Linked DNA regions of Homo sapiens: all the other regions are linked to region 4. Evidence: promoter capture Hi-C in 16 types of primary human blood cells and fetal thymus (Javierre and others, 2016). All regions are on one chromosome and are shown on one strand. The core of a region is centred on a gene start or on the middle of the fragment in contact, and the rest is flanking DNA. Distances in the headings are between cores, read along the strand shown. Region 1 has its middle 150 kb from the start of OSTF1. Region 2 has its middle 110 kb from the start of OSTF1. Region 3 has its middle 130 kb from the start of OSTF1. Region 4 holds the start of PCSK5 (proprotein convertase subtilisin/kexin type 5). Region 5 has its middle 62 kb from the start of OSTF1. Region 6 overlaps NMRK1 (nicotinamide riboside kinase 1). Region 7 overlaps LOC105376090 (a long non-coding RNA gene).

Region 1 (3,997 bases), core at 1,236-3,735, 650 kb after region 4:
GTGATCCACCCTCCTTAGCCTCCCAAAGTGCTGGGATTACAGGCCTGAGCCACCATGCCTCGCCTCACTTTTTAACTGAGCAAGATTTTTACATGAAGGGAAAGTTTACAGCACAGAATTCAGGCTGGTATGGTTGGAAAGGAAATCTAATGATCACAATGAGGAGTAGGAAAGTACAAATCACAATTTGGTCTCTCCAGCTGAGTTCACCTACATGTATTATAGCCAGTAGTATAATTGACAATAACATAGATCATAGATGCTTTTGAAATGCTCTAGTTGAAAGGACTGAGATCATCAGACTGAACTTCCTCATTTTATAGATAAGGAAATTGGGCAAATAATTTAGCTTCTCTGGGCTTTAATGTCATCCCAACTCATTTGTTCTAAGGCAAGACTGCAGCCTGAATCATGAGACGTCTTCAGTGCTTTCTTCTATACAAATTCCCAAAATGTGACTACTCTGCTAAATGGTGATATAAAATAGAGTTGTTCATTGCATCTGTCTCAAAAGTCTAAAAATTCTACAAATTACTCTTGAGTCTCAACTATTTATTGAATAACTCCTATGTGTGGAATACTTTGTTAGATGTTGGAATTGAGAGAGAGAGAGAGAGAAAGAGAAAGAGAGAGAGAGAGACAGAGACAGAGAGAGATAAAGAGAGAGAAAGAGAAAGAGAGAAAGAGAGAGAGACAGGAGAGAGAGGGACAAAGAGAGAGAGAAGAGAGAAAAAGAAAAAGGAAAAAAGAGAAAAAGAAAAGGAGAAAAGAAAAAGAAACGAAACCTAGCAGAGATACTTTCAGGACAGGGTGACGGCTATGGTGTGTCTTCTATTTTGGATGTGTTGAGCTGCTCTTCCCTATTGGGCTAATTACAAGTTCTGAGACTCATTATTTACACTTTTCACCTGTTGTCTACTGGGATTTTCAAAAGAACAAGCAACATATTTCCTGAGGATCCCCCCAGCATCAAAGCTAAAGATTAAACAAATGAAATGTTTTAAAATTGAGCTGATATATCGGCTATTACCACTGCTATTGAATAAACAACGTTCAGGGGCCAAGAGGGTGACTGAAGTTGCCTCAGTTGTCTTTTCAGGAAGGAAAAGGGGTCCACTTTCACACTAGAGAATGCTTCTCTAAAATTTACTCAATGGGGCAACAGTTTACAAACTGTACAGAGCTCAAGAGTTCCAGAAATATGCTTCTTCTTGGATGGTATGTGGAGACAAAGGAGCTATGAAGTGGGGGTGTGGGAGGATCAAGTTCTGTTTTCAACTGAATCAGTTCTCTTATATAGCATATATATTTATATATTATATATATTCTTATATTATATATTATATATTCTGATAATATGTTATATATTCTTATAATATATAATATATTCTTATATAATATATATTCTTGTTATATATTATATATATTCTTATATTATATATTATATATATTCTTATAATATATTATATATTCTTATATATTATATATATTCTTATATTATATACATATTTTATATATATATATATATCAGGGTTCCATATAAGCTTTCATTCCTTCTCCCAAGAAAACATTTCTGCTGCCGCTGCTAGAAAGCATCTGACACATAACACTAACTCATCATGTAGATCAAAAATTCTAATTTCATAGAATGGCACGTATAACACTTTCAACAACCCAAACCCTTGTTTTGTAACTATATTTCATAGATATTTGCCTTCCTTCTCTATATATCAATACATCTTAGATCAGAAGAGTTTATAGTACTCTTTCAAGGAGACCAAAACAAAAAGAACACTGTTTAAATTGGTTTCTGTAGGTATACATGTAAACACAAAAATCCCAGATACCTATCAATCATCTTTTCTTTCTTTTCTAAAGAACTTGATTTCCTGCATGCTGGTACCTTGAAACCTATTTTAATTTAATCTTCATTAGTATATTTTCTATACAATGGTAATCATCGATCACTATAATATTTGGCTAATAAAAACATCAAAGGAAAATCTGTGTGATCTTTGTTAACACCACTTAATTAAAGGTCCTGTATTATCTGGGAGGGCCTCTGTGGGGATTTTAACTGGTGGCTCATTGGACACGCAGCTAGCTGAATAGATTGGCCCTTACTAAGACTGAATACAGCTCCATCACCGTTGAATGGATTAGTGGAATAATAATCAGCAATAAAATGCTATGGAGATCTGAGAAGTTAAATACATGGTAATAGTCATCCCAATAAAACTGTTCTGGAAATGACTAATGAATCATCTCAACTTAATAGTAATTCTGTCATACTAGGAAAGCAACAGAAATGGAGCCAAGCTGCACATTAGAAGCTACTTGAAGTCCCTGTGAACTGATGCCTTCTTAGGTTATGGCAGACAAGTTCACCCAACAAATATTTACTGCATGTCTGCTAAGTGCCAGACACAGAGGTGAGATCCTCTGTGTCACTATTCATGAAATGGTAAGAATTTTTATTTCTTTGCCCTGCTTCAATCAGTTCCCCCACCTCAGAGAGGCCCTCATTTTAGATCTTTCAAGAGTCATTCAGATCAGGAAAGTGACAGAGCTTGACTCCCCAGTTCTCCTAACAGTTCTGCAGCTCTGCTGACCACCTCGACTTGTGAAACACAGATAAAGGCATCAGCTTCCACTCTTCCACTGCTGCAACTGCCTTCCACAAAGATCTTCTCACCTGAACCTTAACTTGGAGAACTGTGGAAGAAAAGCTATAAACATCCAAGTCAAGAAGATGGAGAGACATGCCTGTAATCCCAGCACTTTGGGAGGCCGAGACGGGCGGATCATGAGGTCAGGAGATCGAGACCATCCTGACTAACATGGTGAAATCCCGCCTCTACTAAAAATACAAAAAATTAGCCAGATGTGGTGGTGGGCGCCTGTAGTCCCAGCTATTGGGGAGGCTGAGGCAGAAGAATGGCACGAACCCAGGAAGCAGAGCTTGCAGTGAGCTGAGATCGCGCCACTGCACTCCAGCCTGGGTGACAGAACGAGACTCCATCTGAAAAAGAAAAAAAAAAAGATGGAGAGAGCAGAAGCCCCTTTTCAATCATTTATTTTTTTAATTTCTGTGAGAATCAATTATATAGAAGCACTGTATTAGGTACATAGCCAAATGAATGAGTGAGCAGGTTACTGCCTGAGAAGGCTTAACAGTCTAGTGGGGCAGAAAGAAGTGTTATTAGTATTACAGTGTCTAAATGGTACAACAAAGCACTTGGGAAAGAGAGAAGAAAGAGAACAGGGCTTGATTCAGATGAACAGAAGAGTCAGGATTCACAAAAGAGAGGTGGTCTTCACTGAGAAGATGGGAGCTACTGAAAGGATAACTGAGCAAAGCCATGCCAGCCGCCAATCCACTTGCATATTGTATACTAAGCAGGCAGAAAGCCAGAGAAAGCTTCCATGGGATTTATCCCCTCTCCATGTGGCTTCATATGTGTAAGGAAAATGGCCGTGCTTTAGTCAGGAACAGGCCGAGGCAGCCTTCTGATGCAACATGACTCAGAGGGTTTGGAGTGCAGGCGCACGGTTCCACATGTTATGTAACCATGCCACATGAGGCACATTATGTAACCACACCATGTGAGGTGCATTAAGTAACCACTCAAGTGCCCTCACGCTTGGCTTGGAGCCACTATTGTCTGTAAAAGGTATAACTACCTTGCTGATGCTGTACATATGGCTTGCTTGTGCCCACAGCCCACTTGCACCCAGAGAGACAATAAAGCCATGTTGAAATTCCTTGCAATTCTTCGAATGTTCTTTCAGCTGCCTGCCACTTGTCCACCCACTCCCCTCAGACCTCAGTTAGAACCTGACAATTGGCACTATGAGCAGAATCCCAAGGTGAGTGAGCCTTAAGTCTCTGCTGATTCCAGGTTGGCTATGTGGCCACAACATGGATTGTGGGAACTGGTGGCAGATGTGCTGCTCGGATGGGCTCTGGTGGAAACCTGGGCAGTGGTAGATGGGT
Region 2 (4,070 bases), core at 1,287-3,786, 690 kb after region 4:
ACCAAAATCCATTGCCTCGGGCTGCTGGTAGTTCCCCTGGCTAATAAGGATACCTCATCCGAGCCATTTCCACTTCCAGGCTTTGTCACCTGCTGAGGCCAGAAAGGCAGTGAAAGGGTCTGGAAGCATTGGTGGCCTAGGGAGGGTGGCCCCTGGTGGCCACTCAGCTAACCAACATGGTGGCAGAGGCGGCAGCGGAGGCCCCACTGCGCTACGTGGGTCTGGGTTGGAATAACAGAGTAAATGGTGGGCAGCAACTTAGCACTGGCATTATTGGTGAGGCTGGGACACAGGCTCTCCAAGTCCCGCTGTGGAGGAGGTGCTAGCATCTACATGCACACCGTTCCTAATAGTAAAATCCTTGGAAGACCTTGATGTAGTTCTTGTGTTCAATCACGGCTCAGAAAGGAGCACTATTTAGTCAGTGAAATCCACAAAAACAGTTTTTTCTAAAATCAATAAACAAGTTGGAAATTATTAGAATAATTTGGTGAGTGATATGCACCAGAATTAGTTATATCACTTGTTTTGTGACATACAGTTTAGTTTAGTTAGAGAATAAGAAACCCATTTCTGATTTTCTTTTTTTTTTTTTAACACTTCACAAACTTGTGTGTCATCCTTGTACAGGGACTGTGCTAATGTTCTCTGTATCATTCCAGTTTTGGTATGTGTGCCACCAAAGCGAGCACTGTCATTTTCTTATTCACTTATTTATCTATGCAGCCATAGCAGTTGTTGGATGTTTTAAATACCTCTCAGGTTTGCAGTCATTCATTCACATAGAGACAGAAAGCTGTCATGACGGCCTGGCAGCAAATGAGAAGACATGAAGACGTCCCTCCTACACAGTGGCTGAGCTGATCTCCCTGCATCCAAGACCATTCCCACCCACCCTGCAGAGCTCTGTCCTATGACATCACCTGCTGACTCCCCTAAAATAGCACACTGACATAATGTAGATGTGGTTTACTTTTTCCTTCAGAGGTGGAGGACACTGTTACCAGAATAGAACGGGTTTATTGCCTGATTAACTGGCCTAAACGGTGGGTGAGATGTATTCATCCATTTCTAATTAGTGAAAGCTGGCTTTGTGCCAAGCTCTGTGCTAGACTCTGGGACACAGTAAGAAGAAATGAGTAAGCAAAGGAGCCTCTGGAGGAAGGACACCCGCTCAACCTTAGAGGGTAGGAAAAGCTTCTGGGAGAAAGTGGTGTTGACAACGCTGGGACCTGAGAGATGAGGAAACATTAGCCAGGCTCTTCAGATGCTGGGGAGGAGACAGGGAAAAAGAAAGGAAAGGAGGGAGGGAGAAGGAGCAGAACACAATTGCAGGAAAAAAACAGTAAGTTCTTAAAGACGTGCAAGAGAAAAAATATAGTTCCTTGGGGAAAGTGGATGCTTCTTAAGCCTGGAGCACTGAGCACAAGGTGGGTGCTATAGTTTGGATGTTTGTTTGTCCCCTCTAAGCCTTATGTTGAAATTTAATCCCCAGTGTGGCCATATTGGGAGGTGGGGCCTAATGGAAGATGTTTGGGTCATGGAGATGGATCCTGCATGAATACATTAATGCCCCCCACGGGGGGTGAGGGTGAGTGAGTTCTCATTCTATTAATTCCCTCAAACATTGGTTGTTAAAAAGAGCTGGCGCCTCCCACTTCTCTTGCTTGTCCCCTCTCTCAGCATGTGATATCCGCACACACCGACTCCCCTTCCCCTTACACCATAAGTGGAAGCAGCCTGTGGCCCTCACCCATTGCAGACGCCCAATCTTGAACTTTCCAGTCATTGGAACCATAAGCCAAATGATCCTTTTTTCTTTATCAACAGCCCAGCTTCAGGTATTCATTTACAGCAACACAAAACAGACTAAGACAGTGGGGAGCTGTCACAGGTAAGACTGGGGTGACAAGCAAAGCCCAGGTCACAGAGGTCTTCATAAGCCACATGAACAGGACTGGGCTTTATTGTGAGAGTCGTTGAAAAGATTTAAGAGAAGGGTAATGTGATCAGATTTGCATTTGAGACAGGGTACCCTAGCTGCAGTGTAGGGACTAGATGGGAGAGGGCTAGACTGGAAGCAGGGAAACAGTAAGGATTCTTGCTGTGGTAAATCAGGTGAAAGAAAGATGATGGTGTCAGAACTTAACTAATGACCACGGGGTTGAGAGAAGTGGGCATTTCACACACTATTTATTACAAAGAATTAAAGACCTTGGTGACTGATGGATGGTTTTAAGAACTGAAACTTTGTGTCCCTCTCAACTCCCGACAAAATTTATATTTTGAAACCCTAACTTTTATGTGGCTATATTTGGAGCTAGGGCCTCTAAAGAAGCAATTAAGGTTAAATGAGGCCATAGGTATGGGGCCCTGATCCAATAGGATGTGTCCTTCCTTATAAGAAGAGAAACCAGAGAACTTGCTCTCTCTCTTTCTCTCTGCCCGCCATGTAAGGACACATTAAAAAGGTGGCCATCTGTAAACCAGGAAAAAAGCCCTCAGCAAAAACTAAATTTACCAGCACATTCATCTTAGACTTTCCAGCTTCCAGAACTATGAGAAAATAAATTTCTGTTGTTTAAGTCACCTAGCCCATGATATTTTGTCATAGCAGCCAAATAGACTAATACGGATGGGGGTTCACAGAGAGAGAGGAGTCAAATGGGACCTCCAGGGTTCTAGCTTGGTTAAGATGCGACCTGGAATACCAGGCACTGATAGGTGTGCACAGGAGAAACAGGCTTGTGGGGAGGATGAGTTCCAATCTGGGCATATAGGGTTTGAGGGACTATGGGACATCCAGGCAGAGATGCCCAGTAAGCAGTTGGATACATAAGTCTGGGGCTCAGAAGAAGCAGCTAGATCAGAGATGTAGATTTAACAATAAGCATATAGCTGATAATTAAAGCCTTGAAACAACAAGATATTTCTCAGGAAGAGAATGAGGATGAATAAAAAGAAAAAAAAAAAGACTGAGGACATACATCAAAAAATCACCAATGTTTAAGGAATGGAGAGGAAAAAGAAGAGCTTTTGGGGAAGTTTAAAAGTGGAAGGGGAAAAATCCAAAAATGATGGTGGACAAACATAAATGGGGGTGTGGAAATATCAAGAGGGAGAGCATGAACAATACTGTTGGCTGTTTATGGGAGACTAAGTTAGGTCAAGGCAGAGAAGGGATGCATTGGTTCAGCAGTGCAGGGGATGCTGGCAACCTGGAAAAGAGGACCTTCAGTGGAGTGGCAAGGGCAGAGTCAGGTGCAGAGTAAAGGGCAGAATTAGCAGAATAAACTCTGAGAGAAGTGGAAGTAAAACAATAGCAGAAATAAGGTCAAACCATATTTGCAAATATTTTTACTCTTGAGCTGTAATTTTTTTTTTTTTTTTTTTTTTGAGACGGAGTCTCCCTCTGTCACCCAGGCTGGAGTGCAGCGGCGCGATCTCGGCTCACTGCAAGCTCCACCTCCCAGGTTCACACCATTCTCCTGCCTCAGCCTCCCGAGTAGCTGGGACTACAGGCGCCCACCAACACACCCGGCTAGTTTTTTGTATTTTTAGTAGAGACAGGGTTTCACAGTGTTAGCCAGGATGGTCTCGATCTCCTGACCTCATGATCCACCCGCCTCGGCCTCCCAAAGTGCTGGGATTACAGGCGTGAGCCACCACGCAAAGCCGAGCTATAACTTTTTGATAGATGTAAACAGGAAGATGGAATTCATTACTAGAAGCCATAAAGAGATACTTTATTTGTGTAATGCTATTTCTTAAATTAGACTATATGGCAGGTTAGAAATGAAGTCACATTTCAACATTATGTGGAACTAGATTGGTATATTTTGTTCAGATTAGATTTTAATGGAAATGAAGCTTTGTGAACTTTTAAGCTTTCAAAATGGTTTCTTTTGTTTATTTGTAAAGTGGCTTGAGAGCAACTATAAATACATTTTGACATCAGGCAAATTCCAGGAAAGTTATCTCTGTGTATGTAATATTGGTTGTCATTATGGTGATTTGGAGAAAATAATACTCCGTACATAATTATAACCAAATGATCCATATTGACCCAA
Region 3 (3,824 bases), core at 716-3,215, 670 kb after region 4:
GACTGGTGGCACATACCTGTGGTCCCAGCTACTCAGGGGCCGAGTGGGAGGACAGATTGAGCCCAGTAGATCAAGGCTGCGGTTAGCCAAGATCACACCACTGTACTCCAGCCTGGGTAACAGAGCAAGACCCTGTCTCAAAAAAAATAAATAAATAAATAAATAAAGGTATTTCTTTTCAACTTAGTTGATAATAGGTTATACTCAAACACAAAATCAGACCAACTGTGATGATTTGTAGTGATGTTAATGATTATTATTTCTTACGGAACAAAATATCACTGAGAAAAGACCCCAGAATATATCCACTTGGCGATTGTTTTCAGAGAAAAGAAATAATGTTGAGGGGAAACGTTGCTGAAAAGAAAAAAAAAATCTATAGAAAAAAAGAACTGGAAAGAAAGAAATTATATTTGCTTCTTAAGAAAGTAATCTTTTTATCAAGAGTTATTTTCCATAAGATATTGGGGTACAGGTGGTATTTGGTTACACGAGGAAGTTCTTTAGTGGTGATTCGTGAAATTTTGGTGCACCCATTTTTATATGGGAAAAGAAATGTACATCAGCAGTTGACCTTGGAAACTATAAAACAATCAGAAATCCACTTAGTAACCAAAACCCTAAAAATATTACCTTAGCATGGTGGTCCTCCATAAAGATAGTTGCTATCTGTTCAACAAATATATTACCACCAAAGAGATAAAAGCAAGTACAACCTACAAATTTACAGTGTTTCTCTGTACGTTGTTCAAAAAATAGAATTCACTGGAAGGATGAAGCAGGCAATGTGATTAATTCATAGAAGAGTTCAATCTTATTACAGCCATTACCTTCTAAGTGAAGATATAGTGCAAACAATGCTGTATTTTTTAGACTGCTGTTATCAATTCCAGATATTAAAATAATTATTTTAAGCTGTTATAGCCTACAGGCAAAACAAAATAGCACAGGAACTATAAAGCTTTGTAAAACAAAACATATAAGTAGTCAAACTGGGCTTATCCCACCCCTGCCAGATAAAAAGGCTGATCATCAGTCAAGAAATAAGCACATTAATCCTGAAGGAAAAAAATTTGCATTTCTATAATGTGAAATTACTCCTGCACTGAAAGATCTTGTTGAAAAAACTTAATGTATTTCTCCCAAAAACAATTTTTTAAAAGGTACTTCCATGCTGGGATTTCTTTTGCACAAAAAAATGAAATAAAAATCATCTACTTTCATAGTATAATAAATTTTTAGGAGTAATTGTTCTTCAACAGAGATAGAAAGCTCCACTATTAATGTGCATGATTTTCTAGATATTATTAAAAGCAATGCAATTACAGTTATGGTAATTGATATGGTTCTTACATGATAATGATCACGGGTCAAGAGTTTAAAACATAAAGCAGAACATGCTTTGCACTTTTTAAAGTCAACTGAGCGATTGAAACTTGGCTTTGCTATGAAAGACAGTGGACTCTTTTTGCCCTAACTGCTTGAGGTAGAAGTGGGGGCAGAGTGTTGCTTAGAAATCCCATGTCCCTTCTTTCATTTACCCTCTTATCTCCTCCAAACCAGAACTGTTCTTTCCTTAGGAAAAGAAGGTAATTCTCAGTTATCTGGGCAAATGAGAGTCATGCATAACAAGGATAAATCAATTTCACAGTTAATCTCAAACCCCCATTTCAGCCCCGTTTTATTAGTGTCCTAGCCTTCCTTAATAAACTGACTAAACAGAATCCGTAGGTTAAGAGTGACAGCATCTTGTAAAATTGTGGAGACCTCTCAAGGTCCTATAGTGCCATTTTTTTTCCAGCTGCTACTGCGCTCGCAGACTTGAAGCCTGGTTCTGACCTTTATGACAGGGGAAGCGGAATGCAGCGCAGTTTAATTAGACCATTTTGACTGTTCATTTGCTTGGGTATTTATGAACCAAATCCAATGGATCCAGAAAATTTACTCAGGTGTAAGAAATGGGGAGAAAGATCATTACCTTTGATGCGGCAGATAACAGCAAACTCTAAGAAAAAAATCTCAAAGGAAAGTCAATTTTTAAATAACCTGGAGACCACAGTTTAATGTGTTTTTGACAGCATGTAAGATCATTTTTGAGCCTTTAATGACGTTATATGATTCTTTCTATGAACCAGAAACAAAAAAACCATGGCATCATCATATTAAAACACTGATATATTGAAACACTGATACAGATTTAAAAATCGGTGACTGGACAGGAAAATATTAACAGTATTGTTAATAAAGTTTATCTTGGGGTGCTGAAATTATGAGATATGCAGTAGTTATTTATATTTTTAATTTCCTCTAAATAAACATGTTGCCTTTATAATAAGAAAAAATCAATGATGATTTGTTTCTTAATTTTAAAAATTAATAGCATATACTTTTATTGAGCTGGAATTTCTAACTATTTTTCAAACTGTCTTCTCCAGGAGGAGAAGCAGATTACACAGATATTCAGGCTCTTTGTCCAAACCTCAGTTTTATTTTGTTTATTAAAGTTCTACTTAATATTTCTTTTTTAAAAAACATGGTTCCACTGCTTTTTAAAAAAAAAAAAACAGTTGGAAGTCATTAATGTGTTTCAAATAGTTCCTAAGAATTTACTGTATGCAAAATTCTGTGTTAAGTAAACTGAATTACATAGAAGTTGTGATTTTCTATTGTGTACACACACACACACACTCATTTCCCTTTAATCACTACTCTTTTTTTCTTCCATGAGTAAACCTCAGTCCTATTTTGTTTTTTTCATTTCCTACTCACCTTAATTCTACATTTCAAAAGCCTAGAAACTAAGTGAGCAAGGAAAGAAATGTCTTCAGAGGATGAGAGAGGGCAAACACTACTATTCTACATGGTGTCATTCAGTATGTAGAAGTGGAGGGAGAAAACAGTCAACTGAAAAGTTTTGGGGTGATTAAGAGATGGATGGGGAAAAAAAGAATAGGTTTTAAGAAGCTTCTTGTTGTCCTTTGAGAACTTCCATTTACAATTTGCTTGCAATCAATTACACTTTGTCAGATTACTGCTTCTTTGAATTTGCACTTGCTAGAGATTTGGCCTCGTGGTGCTCTGGTTATATACAGGTTCTAACTATAACAGGTGAAGGGAGCAACACAAAAAACAGATTTATTACATACAGCTTCCTAGAATGAAAGAAAATCTAAATGAACCTGGACAAAAAACTATCCTGGTCCTCAGCATGAATCTTAAATGGCAATAGTCACTGGTGAGATTTCTCTAAGCAGCATTTGTCATGCTTCTGAATCTATGATGGTAGCACCAATATACACTGAGCATGGGAGTTTTCTATTATAAAATTTTGAAGTTTGCTACTCATATTCAATGTAAGTTCCAATGTTTCTTTTAGGATATTGATGTATACACTTTCTTTTAGGATACTGACATACACACATGAGTGTTCATGTATGTACAAATGCACAGACACACTTGGGCCAGGAGAGATGGAATTCATCTATGAGACCTGAGATGGCTCATTAAAGACAAGAACCGAACAAGCACAGAAATTGAGTTTATTCTGGCTATAGCAATGGGGAGCACCCCAGATCTGAGGATCAGAGTGTCCCAGCAGGGTGGCTTTGTCTTATACCTTTATAGGTAGGTGTAGACAGTTATAAATGGGGTGGTTTACAGTCAAGATTGATTTTGCAATCAGGAGAAGTCTCGGTCAATCAGCTTAAAAGAAAATGTTTATCTCTGTGTCTAGCTAGTTACAGGAGGACAAAAAATTCATCTAATTATTCATAAGAAAAAGCATGTGAAATTGGAGGGTGTGTATCTGGCCTTGTCACAGGTAA
Region 4 (3,729 bases), core at 999-3,498:
CTGGCTTCCCTTACTTCCTTAGTTCCAGGGGCAGGAGGGAATACAAACCGTGCCCCTTGCCCTAGTCTCAGTTCTCCACAGGGCTGGCTTCTCTGGAATATGTCCTCCCTCTGGGCGGGCAAAGAGCAAGATCTTGTGCTCTTGCTCCTCTGAACACTCCCCGCACTCCCCAGCTCCTTCTAAACGCGGCGACAGCAGCTCTGCCTCCTCTCCAGGTGCCGCATCCCCCAGGCGGCGGGGAGGAGGGGCGGGGGGTGTCCCCGGGTTCCTGGGCGTGGAACGCAATGGCCTCAGAAACTGTCCGTACTCTCCCACTCCGCCGGCACCAGCCAGCACCTCCCTCTCCCTTCCCCCTGGCAGAGCACGCAGGGTGCGTGCACCCCGGGCAGTCCCCAAAGCGCGCCTGCTGGAAAGGCGCCATCCATCATCCTCACCTCCCATTCCAGCGGATTCTCGCCTGAGCCCAGCCAGGGCCCGCCCCTCCGGCCAACCCCAAAGATGCTTGCGGTGTGTATGTGGAGGGGGGTACTTTCTGGGACCCACTTTCATAGCCCTCTCTACCCCCATTTCTCGCAGGGGTGTCGGGGGAAGAGAACCAGAAAGCCAAGACCACTGAACCCGGAGTACTTCCAAATCTGTTACGCTTCCAATCATCCTCATAGCATCACCTTAGTTTATGGGCATTTCTCCCTAGCAGGAGAGCTCTGCCAAAAGCCCGAGAGCGGCACCCCACAAAAACCCCGCGCCCCTGCTGCCTGCCCAACTCTCGCCCCACGGCGCAACCTCCCGGCCCGGCACCTTCCGTCCCGGGGTAAGACTCCTCGTTTTCCCGGAGCGGAACCCAGCCAGCCGGTTTCGGAAGTTTCCCACCTCCCCACTACAACTCCCTTCCGGGAGCCCCCACGCGGACCTCGCTTAAGGCGAGAAAGCCTAGAGGTCTCCCCTAAATCTGCACTCACACCGGGGCCGGCCCCCTCTTCCCTCCCCCTCCTTTCTCCTCCCTTCCAGCTCCAGTCCCCGCGCCTCCGGAGTCTCCAGCGCCAGAGGTTCTCTCGCCCAAGAGGAAACTTCTTTCTGGGCTAAATTCAGGTCCGAGCAGGAAAGGCTTTCCCTTCCCCGCAGGCATCAGAGGCGCGCTCACCCCCTATCCCCCAAAAGACCTAATTTCCCCCTCTCCCCACGATCACCCTCTCTGAGACTGCCTCAGATTACTAGTGCTACTCGACTTTTCAGGTCAAAAGGTCCAGCCGTCTCTGAAGCCACCACGGGGGCACTCTGGATTTTTCCCGAGACCCTACCAGTCCCGCGTGGCTTGGAAAAGACAAGTAAACAAAACACGGACCCGGCAACTCTGGGGTGTGTGTGTGTGTGTGTGTGTGTGTGTGTGTGCGTACGCGCGCGCGCGCAGGAGACAGAGCATCGCCCAAGAGTTAGGGCAACAGCTGCTAGAGCACATCTGGAAGAGGGGGAGGGGGTTCCACGCAGAGGGGACAAGAAGCCCCCAGTGGCTTCAGGGCCGAGGGCTGGGCTAGCCTGTAGTTCGTTACCTGTCCTATGTTGATGAATCCGTACTTGCTGGCGATACGGTTGGCCTCCGGGAAGCCCCCGGCGATTTTGACTGCCCAGTGGTTGGTGTAGACGCGCGTCCGACACACGGGGAGCAGGCAGCCCCCGAGCAGCGCCAGCACGCACAGCAGGTCCAAACGTCCCGGGCAGCAGCAGCGGCTCCCCCAGCCCATGGTCCCGGCGCCTCGCTGCTCCCTCGCTCGCTGGCTGGTTCCGCGCACTAAGGGCGCGCACAACTAACTTCTCCGGCCTGCGCCGCCCGGCGAGCAGCCCCGGGCCGCCGCAGCTCGCAGCCCCGGGCGATCGGCAGGAGGCGGCTAGCCCCGGCAGGGAGCAGAGCAGCGAGCCTTACGCCGGCTCCTAGACCATCCCTGGGGCTGCCGGGACCTGTGCTCCCAGCTCTCCGGCCCGTGGGGCGCTCGGCGATGCTCCCCGGCTCGGACGCAGGAGGAGGCTGAGTGGGGCGGGCGTCCTCCGCAGTTGGGTTTCGCCCGGCTTGGCTCCCGGACTCTCCGACTCGGTCTCGCTCCTCCCGGGGCCCCCGAGCGCGGCGGAGATGACCAGCGGGAGCGGTACAGGCAGCGACCGGGCGCCCCCTCTGCTGGCCCGGGCTCCAAACGCTCGCTTGCTCGCTCCCAGCGCTCCCTCCGGCTCCGAGCAGCGCGCGAGGATTCTGAGTGGCAATGGCAGCAGCTCCTGCTCTGCATAAATGACTTCCCCCGCCCCCCTTAACACCCCTCCTTTCCCACATCGCCCTCCTCCTCTCCCTCCTCCGCCCTCTTGAAAGCGGCCGCAGCCAGGCGCTGACGAGGTCCTAGCGCCTCCGGGTTCGCCCAGCTGTAACCTCCAGGGTTCCGGGCAGTAAAGGCAAGTCTTTCCAAAGGACTGAGAAGAGCGCTCCGAGATCGTGGTTTTACTCCCTTCTCTTCCCTCCCTGCTGGATTTGTATGAATTTACCGCCACTTCCCGAAAGACTAAAGAAATTTACACGCCGGTGCGAATTAACCGCCCTGAAGATTCATTCATCCTCGTTCTAAACGTCCTTAAATAACTAGGCATTTAAGGAGGTCACTTACGTGTCAATTGCCGAACAAATAACTCGAGATTTTCACTTCGTTAATTCTTCATGCTTTTCAGCAGCTGTTTATTTTACACTTTCTGCTCCCGGGAGAAGCTACCACACAGGACAGTAAGTCGCATCGACTCCTAGAATTGGCTCGAAAGCCAAGTCTGTTGCCTGCTCACTTTCGAAATCTGCGATACTAGGCAACGCCACGGGAGAGTACAATTCCGGCCTTGGAAGTGAGGAAAGATGTTTCTATGAATATTTGGTGTGCTAGTGGATGGACATGTTGGGCCAAGGAAATAACTCCATTCATTTGTTGGATTGCGTCTGACGAGGGCTTCTTTTTCTCCACCAAGGGAAAAGTTTCCCAACTTTTCCAAGCACAGTCCTGTAACAGTGAAAGACTTTAATATGAAAAAGACCACAGAGGAAGTTCAGATGAGATATGTGGCGGCGTCACCTTCATTACTCTATCATGCACTGTGACTGCAGCAGGCAGGAGGGAGCTCAAATTAACCCTCTTCTCGCTTCTCCTTTACAACCTCCCTGCCTTCCTGGAGCGGGGGTGGGGCACAGGGTGATTTACTGTGACAAGAAAAATTATCCCGTATGAAATAATTCAACTGACTTTAAAAGTATTCACTATATCCCTAACTGTCCTCCTTTCTCTCCTCCTACCATGCCCTATTTCTTTCTTCCTGTTAATTTAAATGTGTTTGAGATTAATTAACTCATCCCACCTATAGCTTTTGGTACTGATTTTTTAAAATCTGAAAGATACCTGCAGACTTAAAATTCCACTAGTACCTTTGAGCATAGCATTTGACATTTTACATATTGTATAAGGTATGCTATATTATTTAATCTTGAAAACAAACCCACAAAATAACATCATCCCCACATTATAGCTGAAGAAATAGAAGATCAGAAGAACTAAAACATGTGCAGAAGTGTATGTATTTTATTCGTTTATTTATTTGACTGATTCAACACATCTGTTTTGAGCACCTAGCATGTGCAATGAATTGTGCTGTACACTGGAGAAAGGGGAAGGGGGAGGCACAAAAAATTAGTGGAATTCAGAATCTCTGAATACT
Region 5 (3,762 bases), core at 1,125-3,624, 740 kb after region 4:
TGAGGCGTACCACACCCTGGAAAGTTGACACAACCACCACAGAGGGTTAAGCTGTGACCCGAAGCTCAAAAATCAGGTCCTGGTCGAAGACCTCTAAGAAACTGATGCAGCAATGATAACTTGCTTCACACAAGGAGGAGCTGGTATCACCTGATCCTAATTTTGGGCATATCATGTGGACCAAGGGACCTGGTCAATGTCACAGGCTCAGGATGACAGAGGACTGCATGCCAGCTTTCCCTGAACCCTGCTGTCAGGGTGGCATGCCCTCTCTGAGAGCTTTCAGGGCCATGAATCTCTCCAAAGCCATTTCTAGTTTCAGTCAATGACCAGCTTTGTGTGACTCTTCAAGCCAACCTGTGTCCAAACAGGCATCACATCCACATCTCATACTCACTGTTGGCATGAAGCATTTTCTTGTGGCCTCAGGAATTCACCTTCTGAAATGGGTAATAACAAAATATGCAATTTAGTTCTTTTTTGTTCACCTTGTTCAAAGTTAATATGATTGTATGATACTTTAAAGTGTCTTCAATTCTCTTTTTGTCATTGAAGCTGTGAGACTAAATTCTTGAAGTTTAGACTTTATAGGGGAACCTATGAAGGTGCAAAGTCTATTCATTTGAATAATAGTATTGTCTGAATTTTGAAGTCATGTAAGAGCAGGATAGTAACACCAAACACCTTTCTGATTTCAAATCATCATGTATCAAACATCAGACCCACGGTCTATCAAGCCCATCAAACCACTTGAAAGCAACAGGATAAAACTGAAACAGTGGCAGAGACAATCTCCCTACTTCATCTTTGAATTACTGTAACAGTAATAACCAGGTCTTTTCCAGTTATATATCTCTTCTCTGTAACTCAAATAAAGTACATTTATATTGAAAAACTCGGCCGGGCACAGTGGCTCACGCCTGTAATCCCAGCACTTTGGGAGGCCAAGGCGGGTGGATAACTTGAGGTCAGGAGTTCGAGACCAGCCTGACTAACATGGTGAAACCCTGTCTCTACTAAAAATACAAAACTTAGCCAGGCGTGATGGTGCACACCTGTAGTCCTGGCTACTCGGGAGGCTGAGGCAGGAGAATTGCTTGAACCTGGGAGGCGGAAGTTGCAGTGAGCTGAGATCGCATCACTGCAGTCCAGCCTAGCAACAGAATAAGACTCCATCTCAAAAAAAAAAAAAAAAAAAGAAGAAGAAAAAGAAAAACTCTACTACCACATATGAAGAAACCTAAATGACTGGAAGGCAACATCATTGTCCTCCACTCATTTTTAAAGTATTTTAGGAAATTCTGCTCTTCAATATTGGTGGTGAAACTGAAAAACGTGTTGACACACTCCTTTGTATAACACACATATCTGGTTTTAATGCAGACTTCCCTGTTCATGGTTATACCCAACATTAACTGAGCAACTGCTCAGTAGTAGAGTTTTTCAGGAACTAAGTCATTTGCATATATGATTTTATTTAATCCTTCTAACTCTAGGCAGTAGATACTACCACTTCCTCCACTGCACAGCTAGGGAATCTGGGTGTTTAGGTAACCTGTCGCAGGTCACTCAGCAGAATCAGGCTTGAATCCAGACAGTGTGATTCCAAAGCCCATACCCCTCACCACTTCTCGAAGCATTCTACTAATTTCTGTCAGAACTATGGGTCATTTAGAAAAGGTAACCATTTTTCCTTTGAGGCTCAGCCTCTTCACTCCTTGTCTATTCCTTCCACTTTCCTTCCTGCTTCCTGTCAGGCTGTCTAATGTATACCTTTGGATTTCCTCAGTGTTCTTTTCCGGGCACCGCGAGGAACCTGGCCTCCCTGTGGCTCCCAGTTGCCCACAGGGCTGAGCCTGCTGGGAAACCCAAGCCGCTGGCCACTGGCGACAGACACAGCAGCACTGCCTGGGAATTGTGAAGTTACTTACCTCCATGTACACATCGAGCTCCCAGACTCAGGTAAGACCACATCCCCTGACCCTTCCAAGGGATGCATTTATTTTCATGGTTACACAGAAGTGAGGAGCTCTCAGACTCTCTGAGAGAACTGCTGAACTTAGCAATGTAAACTCAAAGCAAAATGAATAGGTGCTGATCTAAGCTTTCCTTCTCTTATACTTACTCATACTCTAATGTGTACAGAGTAGGAAATTTTGGAAACTTGGGAGTAAAACCTGCTTCATTAAATATTTCTTTAGGGTTACTGGGAACTAAAAGTTTGGTGAAAATTTCTCTGGAAGCGCTTAGGGTCATTTTAAATAAATTATGAATTGATTAGCAGATATGCTGAATTTGTTAGATGCCTATATCAAGGGCTTCCGTTGGAAAGAAGCTGTCCTGTTTCTGCAGATTTTTCTGAGAGAATGTGAATGATGACATCTGACTGTTGCAGCAGGCAATAGCGCGTGGGTTCCCCAGACCCGTGTGTCCACCTTCAACCAGTTCCTTCACTTCTTCAAACCTCAGCGTCTCTGTAAAAAGTTGGGGCATTAACATTCCTCGCCTAAGGTTACTGCAAAGATCAAATGACATCATGTCTGTGAAAATGTCTCGCACAGGCACTGGAAGAGTAGACATTTCATAAATGGTAGTTTTATTTAATTTCATGTCATTTTAAGGGAGGGGCAGATGTAAAAGCTTGTTATTGAGAAATAAGGAAACAGAAGCCACAAATTTGTGGTCTGCAATTTTTCCTTCACATGAGAAAACTGTTCACCAAAGCTATATTTGCAAACAGGAATACCAGAATCTTTTACAATATTTCTCCCACTAAAACCTCAACTTTTAGTAATTGGACACTTCAAAGTTTGGCTATACAATCTTTTCCTGCAATATACATATTTACAATATAAAAATCAAGACAAAAAATACACAGTCTGAGTCAATAGGGAAGGCAGATAATCAGATGTAAATGTTAGGTTCCACAGCCTATCAGAAAAGAAATCATCATTTACAAAGATGATAAATATAGTGCTCACAATAAGAAAATTAGTAAATCAGAAACTCTACACAATAAAAAACATTTATGAAGAAGGCTTATGTGGAAAAATTACATTTCCATCTTTAAAATTATCTGCAAATTACCTAAAATTTCGTTTTCAGCATTATTTCCTTTTTTTTTTTTTTTTTTTTTTTTTGAGATGGAGTCTGTCTCCATTGCCCAGGCTGGAGTGCAATGGCGCAATCTTCGTTCACTGCAACCTCCGCCTCCCGGGTTCAAGCGATTCTCCTGCCTTAGCCTCCCAAGTAGTTGGGATTACAGGCACCCGCCACCATGCCCAGCTAGTTTTTTTTTTTTTTTTTTTTTTTCCTAGTAGAGACAGGGTTTCACCATGTTGGCCAGGCTGGTCTCAAACTCCTGACCTCAGGTGATCCTCCCGCCTCGGCCTCCCAAAGTGCTGGGATTACAGGCGTGAGCCACCGTGCCTGGCCTATTTCCAGTTTTTTTTTTTTAAGATTAATAAAATGGAGTCGCCATTGCTTTGTTCAACATTTCCCTTTGAGTAATAACATAATTAATCTACTGAAAAGAGGAGCCATGGGGGCTTATAAAGAAATGCTGTAATACATGTCAGCCCAACAACAACAAAATGTGCAACAGAACAGCCCAGAAAGAAAACTGAAATGGGAACCTCTGATAAGAATTTTTCTTTGCATGAGGCTCCTGGGCCTACAACTAAACAAGTATCGCACTGCCCAAGTAGCTGGAAGGCATTTCCTATTTAAAGGGTGCAATCACTAGAAAGGAGTTCAGGCCAC
Region 6 (3,509 bases), core at 575-3,074, 810 kb after region 4:
AATTATACATCAGAGCCTGACAATTAAGCTAGCACATACCTAACACCCTTTCTTTGCTGTTAGTAATAAAGTGCTTTTTAGCAGCTTGGAGTGATAGAAAGAAGTCAGCTCAATTGGTTTAGTTTAATATCTGGCTTTTCCACTTACTGTCTGTGTGACCTTAGGCAAATTGCTCTATTGTCTGAGCCAGTTTCCACTTATGCAAAATGAAGGGGTAGACCAAGTAATCGCTAAAGCTATACTTCTCCAAGTTTGAGAATTTATGCTTCAGCGAGCTATCCAAAAATAATGGGGGCAAGGAATGACAAGGTTTTATGAATTTTTATTTTATTTGGTAAAGTGAGGATATCACTCTACTAACATCTTCTGACAACATAGTTTTGTAAGAGAAAGAACATTTATCACCACAAAAGTGAGATAAAGAGCAGCCTCTCCCTTCCCAAAAAAAGGCTAATTGGCAGCATTGAACCGACATACCAAAAAAATAAGAATAGGGTAAAATAAAATTCAAAAGCAGAAAAATTACAACATAAAAATGTATTTTACAATATTCATTGTATGCAGTCATTCCCTCGATACATCTTGTAAATTTGGATGGAGATGTGTATTCAACAACATAACTCTGGATGAAACTTAAATATGCAACTTGTCTGCTATTTTATTTTATTTTTTAAGACAGGGCCTCACTCTGCCACCCAGGCTGGAGTGCAGCGGCTCAATCTCCACTCACTGCTACCCCCACCTTGTAGGCTCAAGCAATCCTCCCACCTCAGCCTCCGAAGTAGCTGGGACTACAGGAGCATGCCACCATGCCTGGATAATCTTTTGTATTTTTGGTAGAGGTAGCGTTTTGCCATGTTGCCCAGGCTGGTCTCAACCTCCTGAGCTCAAGCAATCCGCCTGCCTTGGCCTCCCAAAGTGCTGGGATTATAGGCATGAGCCACAGTGCCCTGCTGCTATTTTATCACAGTCATTATTGATTCTTGTCTCACATAGACTTGTTAATGGAAGTGGACCCCAGTCTTAAGCAATTGTACTCAATGTGGGATATTTAGATAAGCCAAGAAGTCAGACAACAATAGCCCTCTTCCCACCAGGCTTTTTTCTGCATAACCCCTCCCCAGGGAGAGTGTGGACACAGATCATAGAAACTGGAGCATTGCTGGGAGCCTCCAGCTTGGCAGGCAGCCGCTTGCCCCTGGCTACACGGCCTAGGTCCCTGGCAACCCCCCTGAGCAGATAGGAAGGAAGAAGAGTGGCCTTCAGGGATGACCTTCAGGAGCCACTATTCTAAGATTCCCTCCAGCTGTGCTTCACCTTTTCACTTAGTGAGAAAAATGGCCCATTGTAATAACCAAGGACTACTTTAGTGAACGTTAGGGAGGCATGTATGAAACTGCCCTCCATCCCCTAAACCAAAAATCCACAAAACAGTGGCCGGTGGCTTAACTTGGCCCTCTGCCTGAACATTTGCAGTTTCATGTAGAAAGCACAACAGAAATCCAATTAAGAGAAATGATAGCCCAATAAAAGGGAATTTCATTCTTGTCATTAGTAGACCTGTTAAAAAAATTATGATTATATGTTGAATTTCATCAAAAAAAATTGTGAAAATGTTTTTTCTCTTGTTATATAAGTCCATACATAACAACCTAGATTTTGCCTCTTGGCCCACATAGTGTCAAATATTTACTGTCTGGCCTGTTTCCAAAAAAAATGTACCTAGCCAGGCCCAAGACCTAGGCTTTTGGGTGAAGAAATAGTGTCTTTAAACGGCATTAGCTTCATTTTGCCTCTGGCCAGCAGTAACTTTCTTCTTGTCTCATAAGGGCAGTATCTTTAAACGGCATTAGCTTCTTTTTGCCTCTGGTCAGCAGTGACTTTTTCCTTGTCTCATGAGGGGAGAAAGAGGCCAGCCCACAGGGGTCCCTCCCTCACTGATAATGAGTCATACCCAGGCGACTGAATCGTGAAGGTGGAAGGCAACCTGGCTAAGGAGAGGATGAAACTTCATATACCACGCTGTGGCCTAGCAGTTCTTCCACGCCCAGAAAACAGACGTTCAAGGGGGAGTGCTCCGGCAGGTCACCTGACGTTGAACTGTTTGACAGTCCTGAGCACACCCCAGTGGTTGGCACTCAGTGGTAGCAGGGGAAGCCAGTGCGGCGGGAATGTGGATAATGCGGGGCTGGGCTGAAAGGTCACTGTCATCCTCCCCTCTCAGCTGGTGCTCCTAATTTAGGATTCTTTTATCTCCCTAGACATCTAAATGAAATGCATTTGATTTGTTTGTTTGTTTTTTTACTTTTAGGAAATATTAGGAAGCTGTGATTTTCAAAGCTAATTATGAAAACATTTATCATTGGAATCAGTGGGTGAGTAATTTTGCTACAAACAGCTCTTTAAGATACTGAGGATGTCCAAATGGTGTTTCTGTGTGGATGGAGTGGGGGACGGAGAAGCAGTGAGGATTCCAGAGTCCTGGGGAAGAGCAGACCACTGTGGAATATCAGTGGAGCACTGGCTTCATAAATGCCAACAAGAGATGGAAGAGTTTTCTATAAACAGAGAAACAGAAGAGTCAGTCAACCACATTTACCCACTTTCCCATTTATTTTGTGGAGCTAACACCAGAGACAAGGTCTGATTGGGCACTGCTTTCATTCAGGATGATTTATCATTCCCCATATCATTCTCCTTCATCACGATGGAGGAGAAAACTTAGTTTCTTTCCAGCTGTGCCCAGCTTCAGACATTTGGTATACAGAACACCTTCACCTCCATTCCTTTCCCCCATGTTTTGGGTGGCCTTATGTCCCATGTTGCCCAAGCTAATCCTTGTGGCCCTGGATGCACCTCTCTTTCTCTCAAACATGTTCTAAATTATATGGTCATCCTACCTGTGGTGCCATAGGCAGGCATGCAAATAAAACATCAACATCAACTGAAAATGACATTATTTGTTTTGCTACCATATTATGTTCACCTTTACTCTAAGTATATTCACATTGTTTGTGACCCAATTAATAAAATATCTGAGACTACTTTGTTTGTAATTTTGGGGAAATCATTGTGTTATGGTATTACATTACCATAGTAAGTCATCAATCAGAAGTAAAATTGAGTGAACTAAATGTTAGAACTCTGCTTTGCCTCCCATCTAACCAGAAGAAAAGTTCAGTTTTTCTCTGCAGTACTTCTCTTGTGTTTCTCTTCCTTCTCACCCTCACTGCCACCATCCTGATACAGGCTGTCATTCCCTAGTCCCCATCTTTCCCTTCTAATCTTTCCTACACACCTCTATCAGTTTAATCTTCATACAGAACATTTTGATTATCTGCCTGATGAATGATATTCAGTGGTTCCGAGTTATTGAGAATTAAATCTGAATATCATGATGTATGAAGGCCATCTGTAAGTAATAAAGGAAATGTATTAGCCTCAGGGGTAGCAGGCTGCGGGAAAAATTTGATACAGGAGCTCAGTGGTATCACCAAAGGCAGTTTTTC
Region 7 (3,879 bases), core at 403-2,902, 720 kb after region 4:
GCTTTCTGATGTTTTGTTTTGTCCTTTATTTGTAGACTGTGGTAGAATAATATGAATATGAAAGGCAATCAACTCAAAAACAAAAATCTTCTCCAAGCATATAAATATTCTTAAAACCTTTGTTGAGAAAAAGGCTTGACATGCAAGTGGCACTCTAGTTGACTACTCTGACAAAAACAATATGTAATTTAATTTCCTTGCCATTACCCTGACGAAACTTAATTAAATGTTATGCCTCCAGAGAATATTTTTCAAGATACAACAATCCACATTTGAAATATTAAATAAGGAATTAAGCAATCCTCAATTTAGAGAGTAGAGGTTGCAGGGGAAGTTGGGGGATAAATTTCAGGCGCCTCAAAGCCAAAGCTAAACAAGGGAGTTGAGCCAAGAGTTAGATTTCAGAATTTTCAAACAAATAACAAAAGAGTTGGAGAACTAGGAGCTGTCCCCTCTTCAGCACTTCCTTGAATGTCCACAGTTTCTTCTCCAAACCCAAAGGGTACAGGAAGAAGTCAGAAAGAGGAGAGGGGTTACTTTTTTTTTTTTTTTTTGAGACAGTGTCCTGTTATGTTGCCAAGACTGGACTCAAAACTACTGGGCTCAAGTGATCCTTCTGCCTCAGCCTCCTGAGTCACTGGGACTACAAGCACAAACCACCAAGTCCAGGAAGAGGGATTGCTTTCAGATCCTTCCCCAGAGCCTAGTCTGAAGCTTCTGTTATCTAAGAAGTCAGCACCAAAAGAGCCATCTTTCCAAGGAAACACAAACCAACCTGTTGCTTTGTTAATGTTATTTATTGTTGTCTTCCCTTCTTTAGATATTCACTCCTTTAGGAATGAAATCTTACCTCTATGATTCACCCTTATAACTCAGCTAGGGCATGCCTTGAATACAAGAGGTCAATAAATATTGTTGAATGAATGAATGTATATATGACTTAACACTAGAATGTACAGTAAATGATGAATACAGCACTGTTCAAGTTGAATATACATTGAATTCAATTTTATATAAAGTTGTACACTAAATGCTGAGAAAAACACAACTATGAAGATTAACCACAGCTCTTACTCTTTAGGCATAGATGGTCTAATTGAAAAGTCAAACTTGCACTTAGTGACATCAGCAAAATGGTGAAGTTGGCAGCTGCAGTTCTCATTTCCCACAGAAACTCTAAAAAACAAGAATAAACTATCAGAATCAACTTTTTCAGAACTCTAGCAAACAAAAACTGAATTAAAAAAAGCACAACAAAATGTTAGGAAAGTTTGTGGTGATTTTATAGCAGATTTGGTCTTGAAGCAGGGGCTGCCTGCATTCTTAGTGTAGGACGCTTTCCTCTGATTCAAGAGGGAGTGGAGCAGAGCAGATATTATCCACAAATCATGTATGTCTGTTCTAACCTGTCTGGGGACTACCTGAAGGAGTGATGGAAAGCAAACATCTCTTTTTCTACCTCAGAAATCAGGCCAAAAAAGCAATGCTCTCAAATACTACAAGCCCAACTAACAACTTTCAGGTGCCTGGGACAAAAGATTATAGTCAAAACATAAAATAAGTTGCCCAAGGCAAAGGCTGAGGAAAATTTCTTTAGGAAATCAGGACATTCAAAAGTAGTCATGTATACTGGGAATTTAGAAAGCCATGTACACACCCAGGACAAAACACATACAGAAGAAAGACCTAAGATGACCCTACACTTTCACCTTGAGTTGATCTGTAGACTCAGTGTGAGGATGGCTAACTGTTGAAGGAAGGGCACACATGCACATATACAGAGGCAGTCTGGAAAGATTAGTAGAGGTGGTTTTCCCTTTCTCTCCCTTTGTTTTGTTTTGTTTTTAGTTCCTGGCACTCACGGAAATCTCAGTCAGAACACTAGCTGAATATAAGCTAAGGAACAAAGACTTCTATGACCTCACATGATAAAAAATATAGTCTTTTCAATAATAGTTTGGAAAAAATACTAAACAAACAGACTACTATAACCTTCAACAATAAAAAAAATCACAAGGCATACAGGAAACAGGAAATTGTAGCCCATTCAAAGGAACAAAATAAACTGAAAGAAACTGTACCTGTGGGAGCCCATACCTCAGACTTACTTGACAAAAACTTTAAAACAACTGTCTTAAGTATGCTTACAGAGCAAAGAGAAAACACAGATACAGAACAAAAGAAAATCAGGATAATAATATATGGGCAAAATAAGAATATCAATGAATAGGTAGAAATTATATAAAGGAACCAAACAGAATATTTGGACTGAAAAGTACAAGAACAAAAAATTTTAAAATTCACTAGAGAGGTTCAAAAGCAGATTTGAGTAGGCAGAAAAAAGAATGGCCAAATTTGAAAATAGGACAATTGAAAATACTGAGTCTGAGTAAAAGAAAAAAAAAAGTGAACAGAGTCTAAGGGACCTGTGGGATACCATCAAGAAGACTAATATATACAACAGAAGAGTTTGAAAAGGAGGAGCTAGAGAAAGGGGCAAAATAATATTTGAACAATATTATTGTTCAAATAATGGCTGAAACTTCCCAAATTTGATGAAACACATGAATCTACAAATCCAATAAGCTTAACCAACTCCAAGTAAGATGAGCTCTGAGATCCACACCAAGACACATCATGATCAAACGGTCAAAAGACAAAGAGATAATCTTAAAAGCAGCAAGAGAGAAGCAGCACATCACGTAAAAGGGAGACTCAAAATTAGCAGCTGATTTCAAAAACTATCAAAAACTGTTTGGGCTAGAAGACAGTGGGATAACATATGTGAAGTGATGAAGGAAATAACTGTCAACTAAGAGTTCTATAACCAACAAATAATTTTTCAAAAATGATGGATAAAAATAACACATTCTTAGATAAACAAGTGATGAGGCAGCTTGCTACCACTAGACCTGTCTTACAAAAATATTTAAAGAAGTCCTTCATATTGAAACAAAAGAACACTAAACAGTAACTCAAAGCCATATACAAGAAAAATAAAGACCTCTGGTAAAGGTAAATACATGAGCAAATATTAAAGCGATTATTATTGTATTTTTTGTTTATAACTCTACTTATTTCCTACAGAATTTGAAAGAAAAATGCATTAAAATATAATAAATCTATGCTTCTAGACACATCAAGGTATAATTTGTCATAACATCTTTATGTGTCTAGAAGCATAAGGAGAGGGATGACAGAGCTGTATAGGAATCAAGTGTTGTGTGCTATTAGAGTTAAGTTGATATCCAATCTAATTAGATTGTTATAAATTTAGTTATTTGCTTTGGTTTTTTAATTTTAGGATGTTAAATGTAGTTCCTGTAATAACCACAAAAAAATCTTAAATATATATACAAAAGGAACTGAGAAGGGAATAAAAATAATCTGCAAAAAAAAAAAAAATCAATTAATCACAAAAGAAGGCAGTAATGGAAAAAATGAAAGACAAAAAAGGCATAAGATGTACAGAAGACAAACTGACAAAAGTAAGTCCTTTCTTACCAGCAATTATTTTAAATATAAATAGGCTAAACTTTCCAATCAAAAGGCAGAGATAGGCAGAACAGACGAGAAAACATGATCCAATTACATCCTGTTACAAGAATATCCAAAGATTGAAATTAAAAGGATGGAAAAAAATATTCTATGTAAATAGTAACCAAAAGAAAGCTGGGGTACCAATACTAAAATTAGACAAAATAGACTTTAAATCAAAATTGATTAAAAGACACAAAGAAGGGCATTATATGAAAAAGAGTTTATCAAGAAGATATAACAGTTATAAGCATATATACAACAGACAACAGAAATATTGACAGAATTAAAGGGAGAAATAGGCAGTTCAACAATAATAGTTGGAGACTTCAATACATTTTC

What was found. The method cuts DNA at HindIII sites, captures the fragments that hold promoters and counts their contacts. A CHiCAGO score of 5 or more calls a contact.
Region 1: a fragment that was not itself captured here is called in contact with the fragment with the promoter of PCSK5 in region 4 in 4 of 17 cell types (M2 macrophages, M1 macrophages, monocytes and 1 more); the score reaches 10.5 in M2 macrophages.
Region 2: a fragment that was not itself captured here is called in contact with the fragment with the promoter of PCSK5 in region 4 in 4 of 17 cell types (M1 macrophages, M2 macrophages, M0 macrophages and 1 more); the score reaches 10.6 in M1 macrophages.
Region 3: a fragment that was not itself captured here is called in contact with the fragment with the promoter of PCSK5 in region 4 in 3 of 17 cell types (M1 macrophages, megakaryocytes and M2 macrophages); the score reaches 7.7 in M1 macrophages.
Region 5: a fragment that was not itself captured here is called in contact with the fragment with the promoter of PCSK5 in region 4 in 2 of 17 cell types (M0 macrophages and monocytes); the score reaches 6.3 in M0 macrophages.
Region 6: a contact is called between a fragment that was not itself captured here and the fragment with the promoter of PCSK5 in region 4, in 1 of 17 cell types (M2 macrophages). The highest score is 7.2, in M2 macrophages.
Region 7: a fragment that was not itself captured here is called in contact with the fragment with the promoter of PCSK5 in region 4 in 3 of 17 cell types (M1 macrophages, M0 macrophages and M2 macrophages); the score reaches 7.2 in M1 macrophages.

Annotation. Positions count from the first base shown.
Region 1 is chr9:75,238,949-75,242,945 of GRCh38, reverse strand. No RefSeq gene overlaps it. Among named protein-coding and RNA genes, the nearest start is that of OSTF1, 150 kb to the right of the region's middle. The HindIII fragment of the contact is 1,877 bases long and covers 1,547-3,423 here.
Region 2 is chr9:75,194,693-75,198,762 of GRCh38, reverse strand. It overlaps the pseudogene RNU6-1228P. Among named protein-coding and RNA genes, the nearest start is that of OSTF1, 110 kb to the right of the region's middle. The HindIII fragment of the contact is 2,673 bases long and covers 1,200-3,872 here.
Region 3 is chr9:75,214,102-75,217,925 of GRCh38, reverse strand. No RefSeq gene overlaps it. Among named protein-coding and RNA genes, the nearest start is that of OSTF1, 130 kb to the right of the region's middle. The HindIII fragment of the contact is 2,003 bases long and covers 964-2,966 here.
Region 4 is chr9:75,889,192-75,892,920 of GRCh38, reverse strand. It overlaps PCSK5 (proprotein convertase subtilisin/kexin type 5), which reads right to left and starts at 2,248. Exons shown (of 38, transcript NM_001372043.1): 1 at 1,548-2,248. The coding sequence starts at 1,739. The HindIII fragment of the contact is 12,342 bases long and covers 1-3,729 here.
Region 5 is chr9:75,148,810-75,152,571 of GRCh38, reverse strand. No RefSeq gene overlaps it. Among named protein-coding and RNA genes, the nearest start is that of OSTF1, 62 kb to the right of the region's middle. The HindIII fragment of the contact is 536 bases long and covers 2,107-2,642 here.
Region 6 is chr9:75,081,953-75,085,461 of GRCh38, reverse strand. It overlaps NMRK1 (nicotinamide riboside kinase 1), which reads left to right. Exons shown (of 9, transcript NM_017881.3): 2 at 2,312-2,375. The coding sequence starts at 2,347. Among named protein-coding and RNA genes, the nearest start is that of NMRK1, 4.4 kb to the left of the region's middle. The HindIII fragment of the contact is 5,297 bases long and covers 1-3,509 here.
Region 7 is chr9:75,165,462-75,169,340 of GRCh38, reverse strand. It overlaps LOC105376090 (a long non-coding RNA gene), which reads right to left. Exons shown (of 2, transcript XR_001746731.3): 2 at 779-1,176. Among named protein-coding and RNA genes, the nearest start is that of OSTF1, 79 kb to the right of the region's middle. The HindIII fragment of the contact is 1,872 bases long and covers 717-2,588 here.